Regions from separate parts of the Homo sapiens genome. Here region 2 is linked to region 1. The links are contacts of gene promoters, found by promoter capture Hi-C in human tissues and cell types (Jung and others, 2019). All regions are on one chromosome and are shown on one strand. The core of a region is centred on a gene start or on the middle of the fragment in contact, and the rest is flanking DNA. Distances in the headings are between cores, read along the strand shown. Region 1 holds the start of FLII (FLII actin remodeling protein). Region 2 holds the start of SLC5A10 (solute carrier family 5 member 10).

Region 1 (5,857 bases), core at 2,505-5,004:
TGGGATATGAGCTTGGGTTTTGGGGTCCCAAGCCCCCATCTCTCATGAGGAGATGAGGGAGCTGCCAAGCCCCTTCTCCCAAAGCTGCCTGGAAAGAAGCTCACAAAGGCCCTGAGGCTTGTGCAGGTATAGGAAGGGGCCTCTCTCCCTGGAGCCCACCCTCCAGGACCTCTGACATCACCAGGGTGTCATCATCACTACCCCTATGTTACAGAGCTACAGGCTGCCAGCTCACAAGTGAGTGGTAAGGTCTCCAACCCATGACTGCAAGGCCTCCAGACTCTCATCCGCCCACAGAGTCTGACGGATTCTCCCTGTGCCAGGTGCCCAGGTCCTCAGCAGCAGCCTCATCTGAAGGTTCCTACCCAGAGGGCACAGCAGCCCTCTATGATAACCTCTTCAGAAGAGCCCAAAGTCCAGAGAAGACCAACAATTTGGGGCCCCAGCCAGTCTGGGGGACCACTGGGACCAGTTACCCCCAAATCTTGACAGGGTAGCCCAAGAGGCAGAGCTACCAAGTCAGAGCACGGGCAGAGTAAGACGGCCCAAGCTGCCCAGGCAGGCCAATGCAGATGTGCTTGTCAGGGTTGAAGCCCCTTTGGCAGGGCAGAAAGGGCTGCCCAGTGCCTCTGTACAGGGGGCTCTCTGGGCCTCTCAGTCTTGGGACAATGTGTAGGTAGTGGTGGGTGATGCTTCTCAACTGCCGGAAGGCCAAGCAACACAGAAAGTAAGGTGAAGGCCTGGGCCCCAGCCTGTTTGCTCACCTGTAAGATGGCATAGGCAGCAGTGAGGGGCAGATGTGGGCAGCCTTGAAGTGTGTGGCTGGGTGGGGGCCAGCACTTGGGAAGTGGAGGCAAAGATCTCCTAGGGCCCAGTCCACATTCCTCACGTTCTGCGAGGGGGACACTGCCCTCAGGCCCTGGGAGCTGAGAAGGGCTGGGACCTTAGGACATCAGTTAGACACCAAGCAGAACTCTCCCGGGGAGGCCTGAGCAGATGACCATGAGGTCACAGCCTGCCCGGGCACCAAGGACTTCTACCTGCCCTGCCAGAGTGTGGGTGCCAGGGGCCCAGTTGCCAGGTGACCAGATGCCTGGAGTAGCTGAAGCCTGAAGCGCTGTGTGACTCAGCCCCGTACACCCGCCCATTCGCCCCAGACTAAAAATAAGACGGTCTCTGGGGCGATCCCAGGCCAACCGGGTGACCCGCCACGGCCCCAGGGCCGGTTTCAATCTCCTCATCGGTGACTCGGGGATCAATACTGCCACCCGCCCCCAGAGAGACCAGGAATCTACTTTGCAAACTGTAAAGCGCTTTAAATACTCCCAACCTGTCTAAATTGGGACTCAGCCCCATCTCTGGCGGGGTCGCGCAGGCCTCAGTCCACAGCCTTCCAGCTCCGAGAAGCAGGAAAGGGCACGGGTGGCTGAAAATAACCCAAGTTTGCGCAGCGGGGCCCTGGAGGCCGTTTGGCCTTCCCTCCTCCGCCAAACCTGCCTGCCCTGGGCCCGGGCGGAGCAGGCCGCGCAGCAGCCCTAGGTGGGCGGGTGACGCCCCGTTCGCAGGATAAACCAAGAGACCGAGAGGGGAAGGGGGCTGGGCTAGGATTCGAACGCTGCCCTTGGTCCCCCAAAGGTCCCCTCCCCGCCTTCCCCAGCGGTGATCGCGGGCCACGCCCCCGATCTGCGTTCCGTCGCGCGCCAAGCCCCGAGCCCGGTGACCCTGGGGGCCGCCCCGCCGCGCTCCAGCTGTACCTGCGTCGCAGCTTCCGCACGACGACCGGAGGAGGCAGCGGGACCACGGCCCCGGAGCTCAGACCAGCCTGGGAATGGAACGTGAAGGACCCTGGAACCCAACGACTAGGGCCCCGGGGGCAGCCGCGGACTTCGCAGCACGCAGACAAGCAGGCCCTAACTCCAATCGGAGCGCTCGAGTCCAGCGCACAGGTGCCAAAATACTGCGCGGTTCAGCCAATGAAGGGCAGGTCCCGCCCCCCAGCCGACAGCCGCACTCCCTCTGGGGCGGGACTCCCTGACGCAGTCTGGATTTAAAGGTGCAGGGCTGCATTCCGAGACCGCGAACAGGTGACGTGACAGGCGACCCTCCAGGACGTCTGTGCGTTGTAATGTGAGCCTCCGGTGTGGAGGAAGCTGTCTGGGCCCCGTTCCTTCTGGGGACCAGGTAGAGAGGCTGCACATGGCTAGAGGCCCGGCACATCCAACCTCTTAGGTCACCTCTGCGAGAGAGTGTCTTGGTGGCCTCATTCTTACCTGTGGGCCTGAGGGGCACAGCGCCTACCCCTGCCACCTGCTCTGTGCGAGCTTGTGTGGGCCATTCTCCACCTGGGCATCAGTTTTTCTCCTGTAAAATGGGGACACTAGACCCCCTCCTCCCCTGCGAAGGATGGTTGGGCATATAACAGCTGTGGCTCATTTATTGGGGTCCTGCTATGTGTCAGCCAGGGCGAGCCCCCTTGAACAGCAAGGACCAAGACGGATGCTTCTCTTCTGGAGCCTCCCTTTGTAGGGGGGTACGAGCACAGGGGTGCTGACACTAAGTGGGAATAATAACCTGGCGCACAAAACAAAACAAAACGGAATAATAACCTGCCACTCACTGAGCGCCTGCTGTATGCTGCGAGCTACACGTGCATTCTTTGTTAATTTGCTCATGGTGACAACCTTAGAAAGTATTTTACAAATGAGGAAACTGGGTAGGGCGCGGTGGCTCACGCCTGTCATCCCAACACTCTGAGAAGCTGATACCAGAGGATCACTTGAGGCCAGGAGATCAAGACCAGCCTGGGCAACATAGCAAGCACCCCGTGTCTACAAAAAGTATAAATAAGGCCGGGCGCGGTGGCTCACGCCTGTAATCCCAGCACTTTGGGAGGCCGAGGCGGTTGGATCACGAGGTCAGAAGATCGAGACCATCCTGGCTAACACGGTGAAACCCCGTCTCTACTAAAAATACAAAAAAAAAAAAAAAAAAAATTAGCCGGGCGTAGTGGCGGGTGCCTGTAGTCCCAGCTACCCGGGAGGCTGAGGCAGGAGAATGGCGTGAACCCGGGAGGCGGAGGTTGCAGTGAGCCGAGACTGCGCCACTGCACTCCAGCCTGGGCGACAGAGCGAGACTCTGTCTCAAAAAAAATAAAAAATAAATAAAATAAATAAATTTAGCCAGGTGTGGTGGCCTGCGCCTATAATCCCAGGTAGTCGGGAGGCTGAGCCCAGGAGTTCGAGGCTGCAGTGAGCTATGATCACACCACTGCACTCCAGCCTGGGCAGCAGAGCAAGAAGACCCTGTCTCAACAAAACAAAAACAACACATGAGGAAACTAAGTCCAGAAGCAGGAGAGCTAGGACCCGAGGATCCAGGTGTCTCACTACCACCGGTCAGCCAAGTACAGGCACTTCCTGGGCCTCTGCGCCCCGGGGCCGAGGTTTAGAATCTCTCTGAGGTCAGGGCCAGCTTCATGTGCTGCAGCAGCGCAGGTGACGGTGCCTCGACCAGCGGCCGTTACGGCCCCTGCCCTGGGGCGCTGGGACTTAAGCCTGGAGATCGTGGAAGCCTCCAACTCCAGCACAGGGGGGGCCCGCACTCCTTGGTGCCTCCGCAGTCTTCGAACAGACGGGGAAACTGAGGCCCTAAGAGGCCTAAAGCCTACACTTCCCCGCGGAATGCGGCGGGCGCGGGCGGGTTAAAGGGGCGGGGCCGGCGCTGGCCCAGCCCGCGGCTCCCCCCAGCGCCCTCGCCCCGGCGCTCCCTAGCCCGGCGCGGCCCGGCAGCGAGAGCGGCGCCATGGAGGCCACCGGGGTGCTGCCGTTCGTGCGTGGCGTGGACCTCAGCGGCAACGACTTCAAGGTGAGCCGGGCCGGGCGCGTGCCGGGCCTCCCTGCAGGCCTTCTCTTCCGCCCGGCCCGCTTGGCCTCCGCTTCCTGTCCCGCTCGGCTCCAGGCCCTGCGTGTCCCAGGGACTGCGGCCGGGGCGGGGTGGGGCTCTCCCCTGGCCAGGAATGGACCTCCGAGGCCTCCGCCCAGTGCCTGTACGGGGAGACCGAGGCTGGGCAGGCCGGGGACGGACGCTTGGGCTCGGAGTCCCGCCGGGGGCCCGGCCGGGAGCCCCCACCCCGCGTCCGTGTTCTCGGTCTAGGCTGGATGGTGGCCTGGGGATCGGGCGAGCCTCCCCGCCCCTCTGAGGTCACACGCCCAAGCCAGGCCCTGACTCAGGGATGGCTGCCCGGCTGCCCAGGGGCGGGTGTGGAGCCGACTCATCACTGCCCTCTCCCCGCCACCGCCACCCGCCATACTGTGTGATCCTGGGCCTCTCAGATCACTTCCCCTCTCAGAGCCTAGGCTTTCTCAGCCGGTGAAGGGGCTTAAAAGTCTCCTCCTTGGACGCAAGGAGTATAGTGAGATTTGTTGGTGTGGAGAGTGTGTCAGGCCGGTGTGCCAGGTGCTGGGTGGCAGTTGTCTGAGCAGCTGCTGGACTGAGAGAAAAGGGACCGGAGCCCAGCCCTCCGCAGCCAGTGGGTGGGGCGGCGGGGTGGTTCCAGGACTCAAGAATGAGACAGGCATTGCCTGACCAAAGGGGAAGCAGAGAAAGAGAGGGAGGGAGAGCTGGCTGGAGGGTCAGCCTCACCTTCAGGGTGGGTGACTGGCAGGGTCGGCCTGGGTTGTTGGTCTGGGGCTGGGGCCGAGGAGGCAGGTTTTTCCTGCGTTTACCTGCCTGTGTACACACCTTTGACCCCAAGTACAAGTGGCTACACCACTTTTCCCTGACCCCATCCCCACCACCCTAACCTGGGGTCCCCGTTCCTCTTTGCTGAACTGGGAGAGTCCGAGTCACCAGCTGGGAATGTGGCGCTAGGGGGAAAGGAATATCAGCCGCAGGCACTGAAGGCACCTACTGCCCCAGACTTGGTGCCACAAGGGCTGGAGGTGCCGAGGTGGGCGTTCACACACCAGGGGAGTGCAGTGATGCTGGCCTGCCCTGCAGGGTGGGGAGCCACGGTCTCCGCAAGCAAGGGTTTGACCCTGGCCGTGAGTTGCCAGTGTGCTGATGGCAGGATGAGGGCACAGGTGGCGCCTTTGCAAAGGCTTGGAAGGGGGATCCCCCACCCCAGGCAGCCAGTCAGAGTGTGGAATGCTAGGTGAAGGAATTTGAGCCGAGCTAACCACAGAGCCGGATGCTGGGCTTTCACCTGAAACAAGCCAGTTTTGTCCTGGCCCTCCTGGGGCCCAGAATCCAGTAGGAGAGACAAATCTTAGGCCAACACTTTTGTCACGGGGGGGCTTAAAATTCCCATTCTATGGGTGAAGAAATTGAGGCACAATGATGAAATGACTTGTCTGTGTTCTCACAGATGGTGAGAGTTGGTTCTGTGGCTCCCCAAAGGCTCCCATGGGCTGGAGGAGCCATAGAAGGTGGTGAGCAGGGGCTCTGTGCTTCACCTTGACATCCTTCCCCCAGGGCGGCTACTTCCCTGAGAATGTCAAGGCCATGACCAGCCTGCGGTGGCTGAAGCTGAACCGCACTGGCCTCTGCTACCTGCCCGAGGAGCTGGCCGCCCTGCAGAAGCTGGTAAGGGGGTTTGGGCGGGCAGGGGAGGGTCCCTGTGGATGAGCCAGGTGGGCAGAGCCTGTGGAGAAGGCAGACAACTTCTCCAGAGAGAGGAACACCGACAGCTATGAGCAGAGCTGGAAGAAAGGGAGTGGGCACCCTGTCCAGGGAGGTGTGCAAGAAGAGGCCGGGTGAGTGAGGGAGGGAAGCTGCAGGGGTAGTTGGGCCAGTGTGGCTGAGGCCTTCCTGGATGGTGCAGAGTTGTGGAGGCAGGCAGGGACTCTGGACACCCCAC
Region 2 (5,331 bases), core at 2,283-4,782, 690 kb before region 1:
GGCAGCATAGTCTGAAGGCTCACAGTCTTGGCCAGGATGGCCATATCCAGATGTGTACGCTGTGCACTGCACAACTCCAAAGCATCTATGTTTACAGCCCATGCTTTTTCCTAACCCTTCTCATCTTTCAAGCCTATAGTGGGCATTGCCAGTTGCCTTCTTATATCTGGGGCTCTGGGGGCTGCTGGCAGTTGCTGGGGGCCACATGTACCCATTTAAGGTTCCCCGAAGGCCCCCATGCCAGAGTTGGCTTCAACTTCTTGATCTGTGTGGAGTTCTTAGTCCTCGCAACAGCTCTATGAAGCAGGTGCCATGTTACCAATGAGGAAACTGATGGTCTCAGAGATGAAAACACACCCATCTAGCAAGTGGTGCAGCCTGGATTTCAACTCAGGCTCAATCGCAGGGCTGGTCATTTCACATCAGGACACGAGGGGAGCTGGGCTTAGGACAGAGCTACACATGGATGGAGGCTGAGAGAACCAAAGTGAGGTGTAGCTGTATCCTTAATAATGCTGTGAATCCCTGGATCATACTGCACCTGAAGCCCTTTCTATTGCTGGACACAATTACATTTCCTGAATTCTTTTTTTTTTTTTTTTTTTTTTTTTGATACAGTGTTTCACTCTTTTGCCCATGCTGGAGTGCAGTGGCGTGATCTCAGCTCATTGCGACCTCCGCCTTCCGGTTTCAAGCAATTCTCCTGCCTCAGCCTCCTGAGTAGCTGGGATTACAGGCGCCTGGCACCACGCCTGGCTAATTTTTGTATTATCACAAAATAATACAAAAGTAGAGACGGGCTTTCACCATGCTGGCCAGGCTGGTCTCAAACTCCTGACCTCGTGATCCACCCGCCTAGGCCTCCCAAAGTGCTGGGATTACAGGCATGAGCCACTGCGCCCGGCCTACATTTCCTATATTCTTAGAGCTCATTTGAAAGCAGTTTTCAGTCACTTGTTAACAGATACTTTAATGAATGCAAAGGCTCAGCTCAAAGTCCCCTCCTCCAGGAACATCTCTTCCTTAAAGGCCTCCCCCCGGCCCCCGCCAGACTCTCCCAGGCCCACCATCTAAACATCTTTGCAGGGCTGCACCTGCCTGGCTTGCTCTGTCTGCTTCTCCCTGTGGGATGCATCTCCAGCATCCTCCCTGTCTGGTTCTGATCTTTTCTGGATGTGCTCACTGCTCTCTTGCCAGCCGCTCCCAGCTGGGCCAGCCTAGCCTGCTAGGAGGGACAGGGCAGAACTCCTACAGCCCTACTTCCAGGGGCACCAGCCTGCAAACAGCAAGCTGACTCACTAGGAGAGGTGGGTCATGGGCAACAAGGGCTGGTGGCCCAAGTCACTGGGCTACAAAGGGTCTGGCCTCAGGTGCCCAGAACATCTTTCTTAGACGTGCTAGCCAGGACAGCCTTGTCTCCCCTCCTCTTTCCCTCTTCAGATCTTGCCTGGCCCTTACCTCCCCTCATCCAGAAACCCTCCACTGTCTGTTCTGCCCCACGTGGGCACCTCCTCCTCTGAATTCTAGCCACCAACTGTCACAGGAATATAGCACGTTACAGTTTGCAACAGATTTTCACTTCCATTGGACCCTTGCTCCTTGGAACAGCCCTGAGATGTGGGCTGCACAGAAACCCGCATTGCGTGTTTGAGGAAACTGAAGCCCACAGAGATTAAGTGACTTAAGTACACAGAGCAGAGCCGAGACTTGAACTCGGCTTTGCCGATGGCCAGCACTGGGCTACTTGTGAGTTAATATTTAATCACATACAGGTTGAGGAGCCGTTATCCGAAATATTTGAAACCAGAAAAGTTTTGGATTTCGGACTCTTTCAGATTTGGAGATACTTACAGAATACCTGCCAGTTGAACATCCCCAACCCAAAACTCTAAAATCTGAGATGCTCCAATGAGCATTTGCTTTGAGCATCATGTTGGTGTTCAAAATGTTCCAGATTTTGGGTTTCAGATTTTTGAAATCCAACCTGTGATAATTAATTTTAATGACTGCGGCTGCTACTCTTATAATCACCACTGCTACAACTGCCACCACCACCACCACTGCTACCACTGTAGAACCAATGGCAGCAGCAAGGTCTGGTCCTGTGTGGGCCCCTTGATAGCAGACCTCACCCCAGGTAGGTGGTGTCTCCATATAACAGATCAGAACACTGAGGCCCAGGAAGCTGAGGGGACGTGACCAGTCTCCTGTTTGCCAGGCCTTCGTGCTTAGGCCAGGGGTTATGGAAGATAAGAACGGGTACTCGGCCGGGCGCGGTGGCTCACGCCTGTAATTCTAGCACTTTGGGAGGCCGAGGCGGGCAAATCATGAGGTCAGGAGTTCGAGACTAGCCTGGCCAACACGGTAAAACTCTGTCTCTACTAAAAATACAAAACATTACCTGGGTGTGGTAGTGGACGCCTGTAATCCCAGCTACTCAGGAGGCTGAGGCAGAATTGTTTGAACCCAGGAGGTGGAGGTTGCAGTGAGCCGAGATAGTGCCACTGCACTCCAGCCCAGGTGACAGTGCTAGACTCCGTCTCAGTTAAAAAAAAAAAAAAAAAAAAAGAAGGGGTACTCATTCTCCCCAGGAGACTGTCAGGGCTCAGGGATGCCAGGCTGGGGACCTCTGGGGCTTAAGAAGTGGAGCCCAACATCCCCAGGCGCTAAGCGTGGAGCAGGTGACCTGAACCAGGCTGTGTCCACCTTCCCTCAGGAAGGCCTCCACGATAGACCAGAGGAGCCCTTCCCTTGCTGCAGGGCCAGAGCCTCGGTTTCTCCATCTGCACATGAAACAGCCTGTCCCCAGGGGCCCCGCTGCCCCTGGAATCTGTGTGTGGGGTCAGATCTCTGCTCATTTCTCACTGTTATGAAGGGAGAAAGAACCGGCTTATGATCTAGGGCTAGGCCACAGGACATAAATCCCCAGGGAGCTTGTTCAAAATAAAGACCCCCAGTTCCCAGGGCCCTCCCTGCCTCCGGATTCTGATCCAGCAGCTCTGGGGTGCAGCCAGGGAATCCCGGGGAGCCTGTTGTTCAAGCAGACAGGAGTCACTGACACCATGGAGACTGGGACCAGGAGGCTGATGGGCCACACCCAAGGACTCCAGCTGGGCAGCAGCACAAAAGCCCAGTTACCTGTTAGAGAGAATTTCCTCCTCCTCACTTTGCAGATGGAGACGCCATTACCCAAAGAGAGAAACGGGCTTGGTCAAGGTCTCCAAGCAAGTCTACCCCAGGCTGGGAGGAGGACCACAAGGATCACTAGGCCACCAGCTGGGACCAATGCTGACACCACAGGGACATGCTGGACCCCGGTTCCCACCCCAAGCACCAACCCTGAGAGCCCACTTGGCCAACACCACCACAGGTCCCCTTACCCATATGCCCACGGCCACATTCAGAGCAAAATACACAGTGATGACGATGATGTCAGCCACGCTCAGCTGCGTCCCGGGAGTGTGGAGGTCGCTGGTGGAGTTGGCGGCCATGGCTGTCCTGCCGCAGGCACTAGGTATGAGCCCGAGGGACTGAGGGGCAAACCAGGTCAGAAAGGGTTTCCTGGCAGGGAGCTCATTGATCATTAAACCAAGCGGACAGTGGCATCTCCAGCCCATGATGTGGCTGCATGCAGGGCAGCTGCCTCACCATGCAGTTCAGCTTCCTCACCCCATGGTGGGGTGCAGATCCCAGAGCGCAGGAGTCAGGGAGCCTGGGAGAAGCAAGTGGGAGGAGGAAAGGAAGGAGCCTCCTTGAACTCGGAGGGGGCTTGGGGAAAATGAACCGCATTTAGTGGACCCGGAGGCAGCCCAAATAGTCCCAGAAAGGCTGGGTTGCTTAATGGGTGGCTTCACCTATATCTAATTTGTATAAGAAGCATAGAGCGTAGGGACAACCGCCTCACCTCTGAAGATACTGCCGTGGCGGGCAGCCATGTCCTCCCTTGGCCATCGGGCTGTGAGTGGACTGAGCAGGGCTTGGGAGGGGGACACCTGCATTATGGCTCACGTCCAGCCAACACAGCCCAGGCTCAGAGGCAGCCCCATGTCGGACAATAAAGTCCTGCTTCCAGCGTTTCTGCTTTCTTTTTCTAGACCCGTGAAACAGTCCCAGGCCCCTCAACTTGACCATGCATTCGGCCCCCACCCCGGGCAATGTCTGCCTGGGACCACAGAGGGACCCAATATCTGTCACACACCAAGGACCATGCGTGGCTGTTCTGCACATGATCCCATTTCACGGACCATGCGTGGCTGTTCCGCACATGATCCCATTTCACGCTCACAGCAGCCACGCAGAGTAGGCAATGTCTCATCCTAGTCAAGGAAATGGCCATCCGCCATTACGCAGCCATTGAAGGCGCAGAGTAGGATTCAGTGCAGATGTGGCCCCACCGTCTCCACCGCAGTGACAGTGACGAGTTCCATCTGGATTCCATCAGAGTGGGACGCTCGCTCACTAATTCTATCAGTGTACACAGCAGGGCTGGCCGGCAGTCTCACGCCTCTGCTCAGTGACATGACTCGTGACTTTGCAAAGCATTTGCAGTTTAACCAGACATGCAGCACTTCCAGAAGTGTTAATGAGTGAGCGGCTGCCACCAGGAACACGCTGGCCTGCAAACCCAGCCAGCCTGTTACTCAATAACCCTGAGGTGCGGGTAAAAATTAATCCCCTCGGCCAGGAGCAGTGGCTCATGCCCTTGGGAGGCTCATGCCTTTGGGAGGCCAAGGCGGGTGGATCACCTGAGATCAGGAGTTTGAGACCAGCCTGGCCAACATGGCAAAACCTCGTCTCTACTAAAAATACAAAAATTAGCCAGACATGGTGGTACGCACCTGTAATCCCAGCTACTTGGGAGGCTGAGGCAGGAGAATTGCTTGAACTCAGGAGGTAGAGATTGCAGTGAGCCAAGACTGCGCCATTGCAGTCCAGCCTGGGCAACAGAGGGAGACTCCATCTCACAAAACAAACAACAACAACAACAAAAAACAATTAATAGTCCTCACATACAGGACTAGGCAGAAGAAGGAAGGGAAAAAGGAAGTCACTGCTGAGAGAACCCTCAGGCAGGCTCAACTGCCTGCCGTCTCCCCTTGCCTCTGGCCAGCGAGCCTCAGATGGTGTTTACTTCCCAAGCCATTGCTTGCAATGTGTTTTAAAACAAAAGGCTGCTTTGCACTGATCAGGAGGACCCAGCTGGGAGGATCCAGACTTACCAAAACTATCCCATTAATAGAGTAGTTGTACCAGCAGCATTGGCTCTGAGACCGTTGGCTAGGTCTTAGAAGGAAATAAACCACTTAGTGATAACTGCCGCCTTTGGATCAA

What was found. Contacts are between HindIII fragments. The study calls those that stand out against the background at their distance.
Region 2: the fragment with the promoter of SLC5A10 here is called in contact with the fragment with the promoter of FLII in region 1 in 1 of the 25 tissues and cell types used here (spleen).

The regions. Positions count from the first base shown.
Region 1 is chr17:18,256,635-18,262,491 of GRCh38, reverse strand. FLII (FLII actin remodeling protein) reads left to right here and starts at 3,754. Exons shown (of 30, transcript NM_002018.4): 1 at 3,754-3,864; 2 at 5,473-5,583. The coding sequence starts at 3,802. It overlaps MIEF2 (mitochondrial elongation factor 2), which reads right to left and starts at 1,830. Exons shown (of 4, transcript NM_139162.4): 1 at 1,755-1,830. RefSeq lists enhancers at 281-900, 901-1,521, 2,143-2,272, 3,882-4,383, 4,383-4,462 and 1 more and silencers at 3,663-4,062, 4,073-4,212. The HindIII fragment of the contact is 13,885 bases long and covers 1-5,857 here.
Region 2 is chr17:18,950,366-18,955,696 of GRCh38, reverse strand. SLC5A10 (solute carrier family 5 member 10) reads right to left here and starts at 3,532. Exons shown (of 15, transcript NM_001042450.4): 1 at 3,381-3,532. The coding sequence starts at 3,491. The HindIII fragment of the contact is 13,514 bases long and covers 1-5,331 here.